2 separate regions of the Homo sapiens genome follow, and region 2 is linked to region 1. The links are contacts of gene promoters, found by promoter capture Hi-C in human tissues and cell types (Jung and others, 2019). All regions are on one chromosome and are shown on one strand. The core of a region is centred on a gene start or on the middle of the fragment in contact, and the rest is flanking DNA. Distances in the headings are between cores, read along the strand shown.

The links. The method cuts DNA at HindIII sites, captures the fragments that hold promoters and counts their contacts. A contact is called where the count stands out against the background at its distance.
Region 2: a contact is called between a fragment that was not itself captured here and the fragment with the promoter of PHC2 in region 1, in 5 of the 25 tissues and cell types used here (IMR-90 fibroblasts, aorta, heart right ventricle and 2 more).

The regions. Positions count from the first base shown.
Region 1 is chr1:33,427,957-33,433,389 of GRCh38, reverse strand. It overlaps PHC2 (polyhomeotic homolog 2), which reads left to right and starts at 2,295. Exons shown (of 15, transcript NM_001385109.1): 1 at 2,295-2,414. RefSeq lists a silencer at 2,092-2,611. The HindIII fragment of the contact is 10,287 bases long and covers 1-4,437 here.
Region 2 is chr1:33,341,389-33,346,821 of GRCh38, reverse strand. All of the region lies in intron 9 of PHC2 (polyhomeotic homolog 2), which reads left to right. Among named protein-coding and RNA genes, the nearest start is that of PHC2-AS1, 6.2 kb to the left of the region's middle. RefSeq lists an enhancer at 3,984-4,592. The HindIII fragment of the contact is 8,646 bases long and covers 1-5,433 here.

The DNA.
Region 1 (5,433 bases), core at 1,046-3,545:
CCGGGGCCTATATATGAAACGTTTATATATATATATATATATGAAACCGAGACTTTGGGAAGTTAAGTGTGTGTATATATATATACACACATACAGTAAGTCATTAAATTCTCACAACATTTCTATCCTATTTTACAAATGAGGAAATTGAGGCACAGAGAGTTTAAGTAACTTTCCCAAGGTCATACAGTCAATGAGTGGCCAAGTCAGGATTTTTAACCCAAGCAGGTCTGCTTCTATGTTTGTGCTCTTAAGCACCAGTCATGTTTTAGGAGGAAATTGGGTTTTAAAGCAGTCTAGGAAGGTGAAATGTACGTATATTCAAAATTACCTTTGATGATCCCTTTAAATGTCTATAAAGTTTAGCACATTTAGTTTGAGGCACAGAGCCCTGTCCAGTAATCCATAAATATATTAAAGTTAGAGAACCATGGCCAGATGTGGTAGCTTACACCTGTGAATCCCAGAGTTTTGGGAAGCCCAAGTAGGAAGATTGCTTGAGGCCAGAAGTTCGAGACAAACCTGGGCAACATAACAATTACCCGGGTGTTGGGGTGCATGCCTGTAGTCACAGCTACTCCTCGGGAGGCTGAGGCAGGAGGATCACTTGAACCCAGGAGTTCAATGTTATAGTGAGCTATGATCACACCACTGCACTCCAGCCTGGATGACAGAGCATAATTCTGTCTCTAAAAAATAAATAAATAAATAAAATTAGAGAATCACTGAGCTAAACAAGTCTGTACACAGATGTTTGTGTTTTTAAACTACTGTGCCTTTAGCTAAACTATCAAATCCCTAAGGTAAAAATGGAAAGACAGGCATAAGCCGGACGCGGTGGCTTATGCCTGTAATCCCAGCACTTTGGGAGGCCAAGGCGGGCAGATCACCTGAGGTCAGGAGTTCGAGACCAGCCTGGCCAACAAGGCGAAACCCTGTCTCTACTAAAAGTACAAAAATTAGCCGGGTGTGGTGGCAGATGCCTGTAATCCCAGCTACTCAGGAGGCTGAGTCAGGAGAATAGCTTGAATCCAGCAGGCAGAGGTTGCAGTGAGCCAAGATCGCACCATTGCACTCCAGTCTGGGTGACAAGAGCGAGATCGGACTCAAAAAAAACAAAAAACAAAAAACAGACAAACAAAAAAAAACAAAAAACAAAGGAAAGACAGAGAATTCTACAGTGCCCCTTACCTACCTGGTGACTCTATTCTCTTAATATATAGCCTCTGTGACCTTAACACATGTCACTTGTCACAAGGTATATTTGCTGTGGGATTAAGACGTAACACCATCATATCTTGAGAGGAGACAAAATTCTATTAGAGAAGGGATTCTAAGTCCAATCCTAAATTAAATAAATCTGATACAATGAGACTAGCTTTGGGGGCCAGATAAACCTGGATTTGAACCCTAAATCTGCTACTTACTAGCTGTATAACGTTGGGCAATTTGCTTAACTTCCCAAAGTCTCGGTTTCTTAATCCATAGAATGGTCACAGTAATTCCACCATGTTGAGAAGACTGAATTTAAAAGTTTCTAAAGTAATGAGCTTCAGTATAAATCAGTGTAACTCAGCATTAGCTCTTAATAGCTGTTTGACCTAAATTATGTCACATGGCCTCTCTGAGCCTCATTTTCTCTCCTTTGTAATACAGGCATAACTATTCTGCCTATTAATCTCAAAGGTCACTGTAAGGAAACAGTAAAACGCTGTACAAATTATGTACAAGGATTTTCTCAACTGCACAGCACACCTGAAATTGTGAGGAGGTGCTAGGAGACCCCTGCTGGATTTGAAAAAACTGGCGATTGTCCCGGGTCTGAAGTCAAAAATGATCTTAGATCTCCACTTTTGCCATTTAATGTTGTTGTATGATCTTGAGCGAATGATCTAACCTCTCTGAGCCTCCACTTTCCCTACTATCTAGTGGGGTTAATAGGACAGACATCACTTTCTGCAGCAAAGTGTTAAGGCACGTGGTAAGTGCTCAATAAATGTTGGCTGAATCTGGATCTCTCTGGCTGAGACAAATCTCTCCATCCGCAAGGTGGGAAAACTGCGCGTGGTCGCCATGTGGCGCTCAGGTAGAGGAGATGCTCCCGGGGGCACCGGGCTCCGGCACCTCCCCACTCCCCCGCCCACCCGCCCGTTGCCATGGCCACCGGTTCAGGCTGGGAGCAGCACTAAGGCGTGTTCCGCCCAATCCCCGCCCTTCTAGGGTGACCATTGGCTGGAGCGGCCACGTGACGCGCGCTGGTATGCTAATATATGGTAATAGCGCCCTCGCCCCTCCTCCGCGGGCAGCGTCCGAGCAGCCAGCAGGGTGCGCGGCGCCGAGCCGAGGGGGCGGGCTGAGGGGCGGCCCCCGGGAGAGAGCGGCCAGGTGGAGGAGGAGCGCGGAGGCGACCGCAGGTAACGGGCGGGCGCGTGCGCGCTGGGGCCAGCTCGCGGCTGACGGGCAGCGCGCGGGGGACACCGGCCGCCGCGCTGCCGGCTTAACCCTTTGGGCACCCAGCTGTCACGGTCGGGCCGGAGCGCTCGGCCGGGACGGGCCGCGCGGGGCGGGGCATTGCCATGGGCACGGACAGGCGGGCGGCAGGCGGCCTGACCCCTGGTCCGCGGCGTGGGGCCCGCGCTGGGAGCCCGCAGTCCCGGCCGGCGACCGGCAGAGCGCGGCGCCCCCGGGCCGGGAACGCGCAGCGAGGAGGGCTGCGGAGAGCCTGGGGCCGAGGCTTGCCGGGAACGGGAACCGGAACGGGAACGGGCCAAGGTCCCGTCAGTGACTCGCTTTCTCCGGGGACCGACCCCCCTCCTGCGGAGAGGCCCGCGCCGCGGCAGCCCGTGGTCTTGCGCGGCCTGCGCCTGCTCCGCTTGTCCCGCAGAGTGCGGTGAGACCCGGGCGTCGGGCCTGACCGGGGCGCCCGCTCCCCAGCCGCGGCGTGACAGCGCAGCCGCTGGCACTTTCGGCCCAGAGTCAAGCGTGGCGTGGGGGGCACCAGCAGAGGGAACCGGGGGTTGCTGGAACTGGGAGGAGAGAACAGTCGTCTAAAGGAAAAGCGGGCCCCAAGGTTGGAGAAGGAGGGATGCCCTAGAAAGGCGCTGGTCCCTTGTTTTCTGTGCTGAGTGATGACCTGACACCCATGGGAAAAGGTCGCTGCTGGACACCTGGATCGGGTCTGTCATACACGGAGGAAGCGGCTGTTCTACGTGAGTGTCTAACAAATTTCTTATAAGGCGAGGTTTAAATTCATCTTCCCCCCTCCCCAGGTCTGCTACAGAAGTGTCTTCTTGTAATTATCCCCCTCCCCCAATTCACTAAGACTGGTGGCAGCTTTAGGCTCACAGTGTAATTTAGCTTTTGCGACAATAGAAATGGTAGGAGGAGAGATGCGCCACTGATACTAAGCTTGCCCTGGGAGTTTCTTGGAAGTGTGGGGTAAAAAATATTTCTATCACCAGTGGGGATGAAAAATCGGCTAATGCGCCCGTGATATCAATAGAGTTTCTTTTGTGAGTCTAAAGTCGTTCCTTCTAAATCAAGAGAAAATGCGGTTACAATTGAAAAGTACCAGAAACCAATTTGATTTTGCAAGTGAAGTGCAAATTCCACTTCCACGTTGCTCTTGATGTCTTTTATCACCCAACAACAAATACTTGGCATATGCCAGGCACTCTGCTATGTCTTGGGGATGCAAAGATGAATAAGATAATTAGTCCTTGTCCTGAAAGAAGTGGTAGGAGAAACAAATGAAATTGCTAGTAAAAGTGATTAACAGCATAATAGATGTGAATGCAAAGGGCTTTGGAAGCACAGAGGAGGGAACAATTAGCTGTCTGAGAGGACCAGGGAAGGCTTTCCAGAGAACACATTTAAGCAAGGTGTTGAAGGATAAATAGGAGTTTACCTTGCAGAGAAAATTGGAAAGGACTGAAAAGGCAGCCAAAGCGGGGGAACAGCGAATGCAGCCACATAAAGAATATGTTATCTCTAGGGAATGGCTTTCTATTGTAACTATGGCTTTTTTTCCTTCCTCTGTAATGTAACTTTCTAAAAGTAGCCTAGAATTTCTTATTCCCAGCACAGTTGTCCAGTGATATTTTTCTTATTGTTTTCTCCCCCATATTTTCCCCTCATCAGTTTTTCTGAGCCTCATTCCTGGTCTTTGTCACCCATATCTTCCCAAGTAAGGGTCCATCATGTGGAGGTTGAATAGGAGTAGTTTTCAGTTGCTCCAAGGGAGAGGGCCTGAAACTGGGCATAATGTTTGGCACTAGAGGCAGCATCTGAGAGGGGCAAATCTAAATCATACAAAAAGAGAATACATGACCATAACTAGGGAAGCAATGCTGAATGTCAAATTTGTGAGACCTGGGGAAATAAGTAGTAAGATCAGAAGCTGGAAGGATCTGGATTAAGAGAGGATTGGAGTGTGAGATGGGTCAGGGCAAGTAGTCCAGGATTGAGACCATGAATCGTGCACATGCAGCTGAGCCCACTGTTGCATGGTGCCAGCTGTGCAGAACAGCGGTGGATCTGCCAGACTGGGCCAGGCCCTCCATAGGCTTTCCAATGCCTCCTCCTTTCTGTTCACCCTCCCTCCTTACTATTATCCTCTTCTCTTCATCCCAGTTTCCACCCATGTCTCATGCATTGGGCTTCTTTTAATGAGGTCTTAGCTAACAGAGCAGAGAAAATCCCATTCTGCTGTCTTAGCATCTATCTCTAGAACTATAAATAGTCCATTTAACCTCATTAGCCATCAACTAGCCAGCCTATTTTTACTTCCTGATCATTTAGAAGCTGAGCAAGGTTGGGCCCAGAGTAGCAAAGTGGACCTCATCCCCAAAACTCTTCTAATATTTGAATCAGATAAAGGCCTTTTTGCTTTGCTTAGACCACATTTATTTTTAGAATGGATTATGGTGAGTTTTTGGCAAATTTCCTGTTTTGAATTATATTACAGATCAAGTCGTGTAAAGAAGGTGTCACTGGGGTGACATGCTTAATACGGTCTGCTAAGATTGATGATACTGTAAGTGCTGGAAAATCATGGGCGGTATTTAAGCAATCTTCTCAGTCAGTGTATTTACTGAACACCTGCTTGTGTGCAAATACTATCCTGTATTTGTGATGTGGAGGAGACAGGAAAATGAGAGTGGTGGTGTAGTATGGGGGTTATTCTCAGCTAAACAAAGATTTGGATCCCAGTTCTACCAGGTACTTGCTACATGACTTTGACTTCAGTTTCTTCATCTGTAATAATGCCACCTACCCAATATAGTTGTGAGGACTAAATGAAATCACAAATGTATAGCAGTCATTTAGTACCTTTTTGAGATGCTTAATGCGTGGTATTATAGGAGTTGAGAAAAGAAAAAAAATGGTGATAATTGAAGCCATATGATTAGCTGAGTTCACTGCTGGTAACAG
Region 2 (5,433 bases), core at 1,623-4,122, 87 kb after region 1:
GTAAAGGGGATGACCTCACTGCCTTAAACTCTTCCCTTAAGTCTCTGTCCTCCTTTAGGCTGTGGACCTCAGGCCAGGCGTTCAGTAACCATTTGCCAAGTAAAGTTCCCCCACCTCCTCACTTTCATCCAGCATGGATCAGCAAGCCAAAATAAAGTTAAAGTTTAAAAAACCTAGGGAATAGGTTGGTGACTCCAGTTCCTGTAATGCTGCTCATCATTAGTACGGTGTTTACCAAGAGTTTTTCCCTCTTCTTGAGTCAGTCTAAATTTATATTAAACTTCTCCCAGCTGTTCAATATTTAATCTCCAGACAGATTTAGTTCCAGCCATAGAAAGATTCTCTTCTGAAAGGACACCTACTGGAGACGAGAGTAGGGAAATGAGAATGAGGAGTCTTCATAATTGATAGTTTCTCTTTTATTCCCTTTGTTTTGTGCCATTTTGCTACTGAAAGATGATCATGATGATGACTTTCTGTGGTCAGGAGGAATCTCACAAAAGTGGTTGTAGAGAGAGGCTTTTGTGTACCCCTCAGGAGACTGTCCTGGAGTGAGGTGCCCCTCTGAGCCTGCCCACCCTCCCCACCTCCCCCCAGTCCCCAGCCCTATGGGAAAGCAGGGTGAGAACTGACTGCGTTATGCAGTCTACTCTGATGGGGACTTTGTGCCAATGACAGAAATGGCTCTCTCTTTGGGGACTTAACACCTTGTTTCATGGAACCCAAAACTGAACTACCCCTCAAGATGGGAGTCTGAACACATAGATTTATGCTTTAAATGTTTTTAGGGCATGGTTTAAACTATGAGTCACCAGTTAAAACCCTTTTTGAATATGTTTTCTGTTTTTAAAAAAAGTTGCCTATTTAAGATAACTACTTATTCACAACTCAAACAGAGGTAGGCTTCACTTGAAGCAATGACTTATTTAACATTTTTCATTTGAATTACTAGCCACATCAGAACACTGATTTGATATTTCTAAAGGTATTGAGAGGCAAACCATCTTTAATTCTGCTTTATGATGTGGATATTTTGGGAATTGTTAGGAAAATAATCAACCATTTGCATATCCAAGACATAATTATTACAAATTCTGGATTTTTCCCCATCAGTAACAAAAGTCCAGTATAAATGACATGGTCAAGAAATGGGCTCTTTTATCATAGTCAAGAATTATACAATTTAGAATTACTAGTTTTTGAAGAAAAAGTATGCTAAGGAACACAGCATATAATTTAAGTCATAAACCGTTGCTCTGAGATTCATTGTAAGACCATGTAGACCAGCATAGAAAACTTCAAGGTTTTTTTTGTTTCCTTCTCCTTCCAAATTATTTTTATAGTTAGTGAAAAAGGATATGCTTTCCTGTTCTTCCAATTTCCAAATGATATTTAGGTAAGTCCAAAAGAAGAGAACATTCTTTCTACATCTGGTAAAGACATGACTGCTGTTAAACACAGATTGCCAGTGCTCTGAGATGAATCCAGATGTTGAAGAGAGCCCCAGTTTGCTATTATGACTTTAAAACATAAGCAAATGTCTGTTTTTTTCAGATGATTGTCGTCTTAGCAGTGAAATTTATTATCATTTGTATTAAGAAGAGATGACTATTAGATGCCATGCCATAACCAACTCTTCTCCAGTAGATTAGGAGGACCAGGCCTGATACTGAATATTGGAACTGTTGGCAAGAAAATGAAAGTTCGTGACTGCTTGAGTTATTTTTAAAACTCTAGTTGCATGGCTGTTATGTCTCAAATACTATATAATTATCCCTAGTTACTGGTATCTTTAGCATATTTGAAACCATCCATATGTGACCTAAAGCCACACAGCTATATTAAGACATTTTTGAACAATCAAAGCAAATGACACTTTAAATTAAAACAAAACTAATATGAAGCAACTACTTTAAAAAAAAAAATTGGGACCAGGCACGGTGGCTCATGCCTGGGGGGCCGAGGCAGGAGGATCACTTGAGCGCAGGAGTTCGAGACCAGCCTGAGCAATATAACAAGACCTCGCCTCTACAGATAATTAAAAAAAAAAATTACCTGGGCATAGTGGCACACGCCTGTGGTCTCAGTTGCTCAGGAGACCGAGGTGGGAGGATCGCTTAAGTGTGGACAGTCGAGGCTTCAGTGAGCCATGATCGTGCCACTGCACTCCAGCCTGGGTGACAGAGCGAGGCCTCATCTCAAAAAATAAAAAATAAAAAAATTTGATTAAATCCATATTTTGAGGCCTCCAGTAATCAGTATTAATCTGTTCTATCAGTTGACTGGTGGCAAAATAGGGTTGACTGGAAGCTTAGACAATGGTTATAAGGAGGAAAGGAGTAATGTTTCCATGAGCAGAAATGATCAATAGAACTGATTTGCAAGGTATGTAGTATGTAGTCCATAATATAGACAGGACAACTGAGGCTTAGTGTTCCCTCCTCCCAGTCTCCCCTGACATTTATCTAACAATATTAGTGATGCTGCAGTTGATAACCAAAAAAATAGTCATCATATTGGGGAACATGGCTGCCTTTCCCTGTTATCAACCTGAAAATAATTGGAGAGTTTACTAAACATTTCTAGATTTCTTTTGTAAACCGGTAGAAATCCATCTTCCATGAGTTTATCTTAAACTGGGTTTATTTTTAGCCTTTTAAACTAATTTCTTTTCATAAGCTAAATCATCTGGCATTACAAGTTACATAAATTTAGTATTTTCTAAGTAAAGCAGTGCTTCCTTTTATTTGTCTTAAAGTTAACCTTTCTTTTGGTTTCTAGGGTTCTTCTGCACTGTCTGCTTAAAACCCCCCTTTATGAAAAAACTGCATAGAAAGAGAATCTGGTGCTTGTCTTCTTGTCCTTTAGATTAATAGCCATTGAAGGTGACTTGAGACTTTGCTTTGCCCTTTAGGACAGAAGCATTTCTGTTATGTTGCAGTCACAGTGGAGGTAACATTTCTTCCTGAAGCCTGACCTCAACAGTGCAAGGACAGGACTACCGACGTAGACCAAGACGTCTGAGGAACACAAACCTCAGATACCTCAGTTTGGGCCACGGAAAGATTAGCCCTGCTCTGGGGCTGTAAGAGGCCAGACTCAGTGAAAGAGTGAGATTAGAATGATTTCCTAATCTTCTCACAGGTCTCAGTGACGTTGGCACTCCTGTGTCCAAGCTCAGCCTAGTCCAGTGTGTTGTGCCTGCATTACATTATTTAATCCTCACCACAGCTATATGTAAGACAGATATAAGTATCCCATTTCATAGATGAGGAAAGAGGCCTAGAGTAACTTGTCCAGCATTACAGGATAGGATTTAAGCCTAGAGTCTTTTTTTTTTTTTTTTTTTTTTTGAGACAGAGTCTTGCTCTGTTGCCAGGATGGAGTGCAGTGGTGCAATCTCGGCTCACTGCAACCTCTGCCTCCAGGGTTCAAGCAATTCTCCTGCCTCAGCCTCCCGAGTAGCGGGGACTACAGGCGCTCGCCACCACACCCAGTTATTTATTTTTTTTTTTGTATTTTTACTAGAGACAGGGTTTCACCATGTTGACCAGGATGGTCTCAATCTCTTGACGTCGTGATCCACCCACCTCAGCCTCCCAAAGTGCTAGGATTACAGGCATGAGCCACTGTACCTGGCCGCCTAGAGTCTTTCTAATCCCACAGTCTTAACTGCCATGTAGCACAGCTTCTGCGTGTATTCAGTGCCAGGCATTTTACATATATAATATTTACTGAAACCTCCCAGACAGGTAGGTAGTATGAGCCTCGTTGTTACAGATGGAGAAACCAAGACTCAGAACAGGCAGTGAGTGCTTGAAGCCACACACCTTTGATTAAAGGTGGAACAGAATATGAGTCCAGGTCTGGCCCCCAGAGCCCATGCTCTTTCTACTCTGCCATTCTTCCTTTTATCTCCCCTGATCTTAGTGTCTACTGTAGAACCTCTCCCATTGGTTCTAGACATTTTGCGTTTTGAAATCATAGCATGGGCCGGAGCACTATGATGTGAGACTATCTGGGAGCCCTTGACCCTGGCATTGGATACCAGTGGACTGGCCTCCATCACCAGGGTTAAGTAGAACTCTTTGAAAACTCCTCCCTGACTCCCTGCAGCCAGGGCCAGCTATTATTCCCTGGTGTGTTGACCTGGTGGAAGTCACTCTGGTCCTGCAGGTGCTGCTGCTGAGTTTGAGCTCAGGCCCCTCTTGCAGTCCTCAGCCTGTGGGCTGGGAAGCGTTCAAGCAGCTGTTTGGAAATCCCCCACTGCTCCCGTTGTCCTGAACTGCATGGGGTGGGGGGAGGGTGGCTGTTCGCTCCATTGATTCCTTCCTGCATAGCTGGGGGTGGCAGCTTGGAGCACATTCAGCTGTTTACAATTCAGCTTATGTACACTTTAGCTGGGGATTGTGGGTGAGTCAGAAGGGCCGTTCTCTTTGCCTGTGTCCTGAGAGACAGCATGAAAGTCAGCTGTATGGTAATGGCTGCCAGCATGGGAGGAGCCCCCTCCCTGCCAGATGCCTTAACGGGAGCTGGTCAACACAGATGCTTAAAATCCAGTAAGCTCTCCAAACCTTTCAACCCAGACCCAGCAAGAGCATTTTGCAGTGACGCTGAGGGCAAGGCTGGAGGGTCCCCTGGCTTGGCCTCTCCTTCATCCTGCTGGCCAGCCCCCTGCAAGGAACTCAGGTGTGGATCTCAGTCATCCGCAGCCAGTGACCCTCCTGTGCCTGAAAAGCTCACCAGTTTTCTCAGCAAAGAGCCCCACAGGGTCCTTCTGTCACTGCTGTGCCTTCCCTTCTCTGGGAGAGGTCCTTCAGAGGAGGTGCTTCAGAGAGGTTCCTCAGGGAGCCACAGCCTGCTGTGTCAAGGCAAGGAGTCCTTGTCCCTTTGACAGCTCTGCCCTTAGCAGATTTGAAAAGGCTGCAGACATTGGATGTTCCCCCTGCCTTCTGGTATTCAGAGGACCCCAGGTGGGAAGGGTCTATAATTTTCCCACCACTAAGAGTTCATTTTGTGCATGTTTTACAAGATACTGTCTTCCAAATAAATGGCATTCGTTTGTTTTATTCTAAAATGCACACTTTTACAATCTGTACTTGAGACGCACACGTAATCAATGTGTAAATTCGTTGTGGGGGAAATGGGTCATCTTAACAACTGACTGCATTTTAGAATTTGGGAAACATGGTAACATGATATTAAATAATAGCATGTTTTGCCCTCCTGAAGGTATATATTATGTGCTGTTTCCTTTTCGGCTTCTTCAGATATTGAATCCAGCTTGTGCGTCCTGATTAACTAGATTCAGGGATCCTGCTTAGTCATCCAGGAATCCCAATTTGGGAATCACTCATCTAGATCATCCTGTGCTTCCCAACCCAAATGCTCCAGCCCACATGTGATATCTGGCCTCTGCCTCAGAAGGTCCCA